Linked DNA regions of Homo sapiens: region 1 is linked to region 2. Evidence: promoter capture Hi-C in human tissues and cell types (Jung and others, 2019). All regions are on one chromosome and are shown on one strand. The core of a region is centred on a gene start or on the middle of the fragment in contact, and the rest is flanking DNA. Distances in the headings are between cores, read along the strand shown. Region 1 overlaps LDLRAD4 (low density lipoprotein receptor class A domain containing 4). Region 2 holds the start of CEP192 (centrosomal protein 192).

Region 1 (4,074 bases), core at 164-2,663, 390 kb before region 2:
GGCAGCAGGAGAGCAGGACTGACCCTGGGCCTCTTGCCCTGAAGGCACTGCTTCCCATGCTACTCCTGAGGCCCAGGAAGCTCCCTAAACCCAAGTAGCTTAAATCAAGAGAGAAGGAGAGGGGGGAATACAGGAAGAGGCAACTTACCCAGGACGCAAGGTCACAGTCAAGATCCCCCCCAAGGCAGCAAGCACATGGTCATCATTCTACACACACACGCACACACATGCACACACGCACACACACGCACACACACACGCACACACACATGGAGGTTCTATTTATACTGGGAAGATGGGCAGGACTAACCAGGAAATAAATTAATTCAATATTGCACTTGAAAAATGTCATTAAGTCCCTCCCATAACAGAGCAACAGTTACTAAGGAAATAGAGCACGTCAAATGGAAAAACACCCCCACAGGAAGGGACATTTTAAAAACATGAACACTCACAAACCTAACCAAGTAAGTTACAGGGTATGTCTGCCTTACCAGTTATTCACAAAAACTTATATGAAACGCAGTCCTCCTCAGAGTCATTCAGGAATACAAACTGAACTGTGTCCGTATTATATCTTTCATTAAAAGACACTGTAAAAACAGATACATGGGGTTCAGGAAATGTGAGGGTCACACAGGGGCACGGAGGCCAAAATCCAATGGAGAAGTGAAACAGCCTTTTTTCCAAAATCAAAGTAGCACTCAAAAAACCGTAGTGCATAAAGAATTGACGCTGCAGTTTCATTTTTTATTTCCTCCTGCTGTGGACAGACTGTTTCGCTGGCGGAATGTCGGTTACCTAGGTGACAGCTCCACAGCCATGGCGACTGCTCCAGGCCCCACAGACGCTCAGGGCCGAGCCCCGGCCTGTGGATGCCGATCCCTGGCCACTCTACCCACCAGAGAAGTTCCAGGGAGAAAGGAACGCTGCCAACCAAAGAGGTCATTCTAAACCTCGGCAAACTGGGGCTCTGCTGCAAAATTTAAAAAAAATAAAAATGACCATGTTTGAGAGCTGCACGGCACAGCTCACCTATGCATCATCTCACCCTATGTTCATTTAGGATCAAAGAGGCAAAGGGCTTGTCATGAGACAGATGGGAGAAAAAGTGGGGAAAAGACCCTTGAGAAGCTATTTCCAACTTGAGCTGGGACCAGGTGTCCCACCAAGGGAGATGTCACACGTCTCCATGTGAGTGCCTCAGAGCTCATGGATAGTGCAGACCTTGGCAACGGCCAGTCAGTCTCAAGATCTCCTAACAGTAAAGAAAAGGAGGTGCTACAAATAAAACACCTCTGCCTCCAGGCAGCCAGCCGTAGGCAGAGAGCCCCAGGTAGGGGACCCACTCTGCTTCTGGTACCCGTGGTGACTCCCGGCCCTGGCTCCCATCTCCTCTTTTATACAATGAGGAGGTGAAACTGGAGGTCCCTCCCATTCCAAAAAGTCCCCTATGGCCATGTCTCTGGCCGAGAGAGAGGGCAAATGGGCATAAAAAAGGATACAGTGGGCGGGCACGGTGCCTCACGCCTGTAACCCCAGTGCTTTGGGAGGCTGTGGCAGGAGGATTGCTTGAGCCCAGGTGTTTGAAACCCACCTAGCCAACATAGAAAGTCCCCATATCTACTAAAAATATAAAAATTAGCTGGGCATGGCTGTGCACACCTATACTGGGGAGGCTGAGGCAGGAGGACTGCTTGAGCCCATGAGTTCAAAGCTGCTGTGAGCTGTGACTGCACCACTGCACTCCAGCCTGGGCAACATAGCAAGACCCTGTCTCTTCAAAAAAAAAAAAAAAACTAAAGAGAAACAAAAGAAAGGGACACAGTGCAGAAGCACAGAAAATCCACATGGAAATGCAAATCTGAGAGCAAGTCAGAGAAACAGGCTGCCTATAGCCAGGGAAGACTGAGTTGGAGTGTGATGAATTTTTCATGCTACTTTTCATCTCTGTGATGTGGGGGGGCAAAATAACATGTAGCTTTTGTAACACAACCTCCAAGCCATCCTCACCCTGGGTAGCTCAGTGGGATCTGGTTACTTGTTCAGCATAATGTAGTTCAGGGTAGCGTAGTGCCTTGCTGTAGGTCACCAATTCAGGAAGCAAGTACAAAACCCAAAACATCGATTCAAAGACACACACAGGCTGCAAACAGGAAAAGCAATAATTATATTAGAACATTCTTTAAAATGTCACCTTGACAAATCCAACACTTGATAAATCCTGAGGCTATATTCAAACCAAGTTGGAGAGAGTTCCCCCTAAAATAAACAGGATAACTGTCCTTAATGCATTAGTAAGTCTATAATTATCGACTCATATGATCTAGCAGCAGAGGAAGCCGCAAGGAGTCATATATCCGACCCCTGTGCTTTGTGGAGGAGGCGATCCAGAGGCTCAGGGAGAGGGGACAGGTTGAAGATGAGTGTGGGAGGAATGCAAGCCAGGGCTGGAACCAGGTGTCTGGATCCTGGCCCAAGCTTCCAGTTCCACTGTCTACACACAGCGGCCACAGGAGACACTGGCTCAGGAGGGAGAGCCTGCAATGCTAGGAAGACAGCCGTGCACACCTGCACCAGCCGCTCGCTGGGAATCAGGGAATACTGGGAAGATCTCTGCTTTCCAGGGCCCGAACCAGGCCATTCCCACAGCACCCACATGCACAAGGGAATGGGAAAGGGTCAGGGCTTGGCCCAGGGGCAGATGATCCCTGAGCAGACGTGCATTCTGGTCTGAGCCCGGTCTGAGCACATCACAGACACCTCCACTGTGGCCACCAGCCAAGCAGCGGCAATGCCCCTCCCAACCCAGCCCCACCCCCGTAGAGGTTCTGCTCCCACTGTGGCCTGGCGTGAGGGCTCGGGCTGACGGGCAGGGGGCTGGCGGGCAGGGGGCTGGCGGGCAGGGGCAGGCCTCTGCAATCCTCCACACCCAGGGATCTCCCCCACTCCAGCTTTCTTCAGATAAAATCAGCTTAAAATGGGCATGACAGGCAAACAAGAAGGGGGTCAGACCATAGGCTAACAAGTGTGGGCAGGAAGGGAGGGGGAGCTGTCTCATTCTTTGGTGGGAATAGAAAAGAATATGAACCGACAAGCTGTTTGTACGAAACAATTTTCATCTCCCTTGCCAAGCCACTCCTTGCTGTCAGCTCACAGCAGGCTTCCCTGGGACACCTGTGCCGGCCCACAGTCTTCCCTGCTCTCTGGCCTGCAGGACGCCACCAAAGCTGCATCTCTTCATTCAGTATTTCAACAGCTATTTGTGGGGTCATTACTCTGGCAGGCACTATTTTAGGAGCTGGGGAGACAGCAGTGAGCAAAACAAACCAAGCTCCTGTCACCATGGGGCCCAGATCCTTGTGTCTCGTCTGCCTCTGCAGGTGTTTCTGGACAACGCTTCCTGATTATCCTTGGCATTGACCATGGGGACTAGAATACAGCAGGTACCCAATAAATGCTGACTGTACTGCACAGAATTCTAGCTGAGCCTCAGCTAGGTCACCTCCTTTTCAATCTATGGCCTCTGTCCTGCATCTGGGCACCACACACAAGTGGCTGCTGGCCTGGGGGTGCCCCATGGGGGACATCGTGGCTGGGAGTTTACTGCACAGGCAGTGCCCAGCCCCACACTGTTTCAAACATGCTCAAACAAGAGCCTTATACAAAGGGGCCAGAGGACAAAAGTCTGGGCTCTGGCCACATTGGGTTCACCTCATTCTAGGCTGTGTGTGACTTAGGCAGTTACTTAAAGCCCCTGAGCCTCAGTTTCCTTGGCTGTAAAATGGAAGCAATGATGGCACTGGCCTGATGGAGCCATTGTGTATCTAATGAGAAAACACAAACAAAACCCTAGATCTAATGAGGGCTGGAGAAGTTACCACCCCTCCCAAATTACTACAACCTGCCTCAGCAGATGGCCGATGAAATCGCGTCTCTAACACGGCTCAGCCCACCCTCTTCCAGTTCTGATCTGACCCAACTGATACAACGTCAGATTCATCTCCTAGTTCCTCTGCTAATTTGTCTTGATTTTTTTAAAAAGTTCCCAATAGATAAAAATCAAAGCTCAAA
Region 2 (3,734 bases), core at 873-3,372:
ATATACAGGAGCATATGCATCAGTTATATGTAAATACTACACCAATCTATGTAAGGAACTTGAGCATCCAGAGGATTCTGGCATCCTGGGGCAAGGGCAGGTCCTGGAACCAATCCCATGGATAACCTGAGGGAACGACCATACTTCCAAATGGCTCTCTGACATCTACCTTACCCCCGAATGCAATACAAAATACAAAACCAAACTTGTTACCTTTCCTCCATTCATTCCCGCCGTTATCTTTAGTCTTCACCCAAATCCATCCCTATTAACTGGCAATACAAGCCTGACACCTAGGACCATCCTGATCCCTCCTGCTCTCTCACCAAATTCTAATGCTTCTAACGTCAAATACACTTCTGGAGCTGAGACCCACTTCTATATTCCTAATGCCCGTTGCCCATCACTTTTTATTCTGAACTATCACACGAGTCTCCCAACTAGCCTCCCCAAGTCTAGCCTTGTAATTACTAAGTTATTCATTCATATACAGACATGTAAACTATTAAAATTTATAGAAAACTCTTCAACAGTTGTCCCTATTTAGAAGGGCCTAATCCAAAGAAAACTCAGAAATTATGCAAAGGTCATTCATGCAACATTCATTATCAAACACAAACCATGAAGAACCCTCTACTTGGCACCAAGAATGCAAAGATAAATAAGGCAGCTCCCCTCAGGGAGCTGACAATCCCTGTCAACTACGATAGTGTTAAGTGCTTCAACAGAGCTTTGCTAAGGGTGCAAAGGTAACAAAACCCACGGGAAGATTCCTCAAGATGTAACCTAATACCTAGTCTCTTCTCCAGAAAAGATTACACTTGTAAACCATTCATGGACATAACACATTCCTAAAGGAAATTTCCTTTAATTTCTCACATTATTGCATTACCCACCCCTCCTCCATCATCTCAAGTGAAGACAATATTTTTCTTCTATCCTATTTGAACTGAGTGGCTATATTTGCAATTTCTCTTGCTATTTCCTTAAAGTAGTGACCTCAAATTTCACATCTGGACTCACTAATTACATTCCTAGGTACATAAAAGATTACTGACTATAGTCATTAATCGTAGGTCTATGTATACAATTAAACACATTTAAAAGCACACGCCGTGGAACCCAAAGCCGAGTCAAACTTCCCCAAAACTCATCATTTACTCTTGGCACTTTAAGATATACTTTAAAACTAGGTAGGCATTTGGTATATTATTGTTCAAGGCTTGCCGTTTTTGCCTAGAAAACTGAAATTTGGAGAAAAAGTTGATTTTGGAGCAGTAAAAACGCCAGTCGAATGACCTCAAAATAGTAAGAGCAAATGGAAATATGGTCATATAAACAGCTGTTCTCCAAACGACTGACTTGAAGAGGTCCTCATGTTTTACTAAACAAACTCTGAAAGTAACAGCAAAGTAAAAGTAGAGTGTATTAACATTCGTCTCATTTCACGTTCTGTTGATAATGAAATCATAGGCAAGGAATGTAGGTAAACTATTAGGAATAAATGAACGCAACCTAGCAGAAACCAAATCAAGTGAGTAAACGGAAGACAAGGGCATTAAGTTAAGTTAACAAGGTTACTTCCTGGGTCAGAATTTTAAACAAAAAGGAGGAACAGAACCGCCCATCACAGGGCACATAAAGGAAACATCACCGGTCACTTCACAAGCACACTGCAAGAAACTCCAGAGGGTAGCACGGAGAGGGCCTGTCCCTCAAGAGGTGGAAGTCCCCAGACAAGAGGGGAGGAAAGAAGGACGTGATCCCCTAACAGTCTGTCTCATCACGCCCGGCCAAAGCCCGATGACACAGAGGCGTGCAATTAATCCCAACCAGGCGGAGCTCAGCTCAGAGGCTGCGCCAGGCGCAGAGGCGCGGGAAGCGCGGCAGTCCCCTTGCTCGCGCCCTGAGGCCGCCCCACAGCCTGCGCCCCCACCCGGCCCAACCGTCACTGTCCCGTCGGTCCGGCAGCCGAAACGTAGGCCAAAGGTGCATGCGTCTGCCTCCCGCCTAGGCGCAGGCCGAGGCACCAGCGTCCCCCCTCACCGAGCCCGCGTCCCCGACTTCGGAGGGCAGTGTGCAGCGGGAAAGTCCACGGACTGAAGAGGTGTCCCAGGGCACTGCAAGTGCGCGTGCGCGTGGCCCCCGCACCGGCTGGAGCCCGGAACGGCCGTACCGCGCCCGCCTCTGGTTTACGTCTGTTCGCGGCACCAGGCAAGGGGAGGAGACTGAGCTGGCTTTTGATTGGACAGCGGGAAGACATGGGGCGGGAAGAAGCCCGGTGATTGGTGGGGACAGCGCGTTCCTGGATTTGAAGCGAGGAAGCCGCGCGCCCTGCGAGTCCGGAGGAGGAAATGGAGCTCTGCGCTGCGTGGGACCCGGGGGACGGCTCCCGTTGGCGCCGCCTTCAAGGTCTTGGCGAATTTGAAAATAATGCTTACTTTATTCAGTTTGGGTCTCCAGGGCACCGCCAGTCACTCTATGCGCAAAGAAGTATCCCCCGCCAACAAATCCCCCCCGATAGGTTTCGTCCTTCCGTGGGCAGATGCAGACCTTTCCTGTTGGTAGGCGCTGAAAGGCGTCAGGTTTCACCTTCAATCAGCTAATTCCTCGGGATCCAAGTTTCATGACATTTCGCCACATCTAGTCGCCTCTTTGTGACAGAGTAGGCTTTGTCTCGATTGCTTCCTACTTTTCTCCATCCTTCTTAGGCCACAAAACCCATCACCGCCATCTGCTCGGCACAGGCCCTTAACTACTTCACTGAGACCATGCCTTTCACTCAAAATGTATCTCAGTCTTTTTCAGTAAGGTCCCTTATCTCAAAATTTATTCCATATAGTCACAGAGGGAAAAGAGTCCCTCTTTTCCAAAGCTAACTCCTTAACTTCGTTCAAGTTACTGAAAGATGTCCGGCGCACCTTGGAGGAAAGAAGAGGGAAAACGCAAAGTTTAGAAGTCCCTAGACCTGAGGTTACTTGGTGGGGAAAGACGTCTGTTTACTTGACCACTTTCTACCTCCTGCAAACATGGCTCACCTGTCATTCTTGGATATCCTCTCCACTGGTTTCCTTCTCTCTGCCTACAAAAATGCAGCACCTCTCTACCCAAACACACACACCACACACCCATACACCACACACACCACTCACACCACAAACCACACACACCCACATATGCACCACACACACGTGTGTGACACGTATACACACATCCATACACAACACACACCCACATACACATCACCCACACACCACACACACCCTCCACACACAAACACCACTCAAACCACACACCCACACACACCCCTTCCTTGATTCTGTTTCATCACCTAATGACCATTCTTGTTTCCTTCCCTTAATGGTCTCCACTTTTTTTTCCATAGAGGAAGCCAGGCTTCCACTTTTTACACCTTATTTTGACGCATTTCATGGTGTCTAGCTGGGTCCTTAAAACTTTATCAGGAATAGACTCCTAATTGTCAAACTCAGTGATATCTCCACAGTTCGACACCTCTTCTTGGAACCCTGCAGCCTTGGTATTTGCAAAGAGTAATTACCTTTATTCTACCTTTGTCCACACTCAGTGAGCAAAGATAAATGCAGAAAATCTCAAGATTTTCTGAATCCCAAAAAAGTAAGCCAAATGCTCAGCCCTAGAGCTGACCTCTCTTAACCTCTTTTTCTACAAAGCGGTCACACATTGGAGGTGAACTGCTTAAATGTGTCTACAGG

What was found. Contacts are between HindIII fragments. The study calls those that stand out against the background at their distance.
Region 1: a fragment that was not itself captured here is called in contact with the fragment with the promoter of CEP192 in region 2 in 1 of the 25 tissues and cell types used here (dorsolateral prefrontal cortex).

Annotation. Positions count from the first base shown.
Region 1 is chr18:13,378,802-13,382,875 of GRCh38, reverse strand. All of the region lies in intron 2 of LDLRAD4 (low density lipoprotein receptor class A domain containing 4), which reads right to left. Among named protein-coding and RNA genes, the nearest start is that of LDLRAD4-AS1, 47 kb to the left of the region's middle. RefSeq lists enhancers at 743-1,367, 2,059-2,558, 2,559-3,060. The HindIII fragment of the contact is 4,118 bases long and covers 1-3,472 here.
Region 2 is chr18:12,989,750-12,993,483 of GRCh38, reverse strand. CEP192 (centrosomal protein 192) reads right to left here and starts at 2,122. Exons shown (of 45, transcript NM_032142.4): 1 at 2,047-2,122. RefSeq lists a silencer at 1,861-1,940 and enhancers at 2,421-2,800, 3,191-3,734. The HindIII fragment of the contact is 10,836 bases long and covers 1-3,734 here.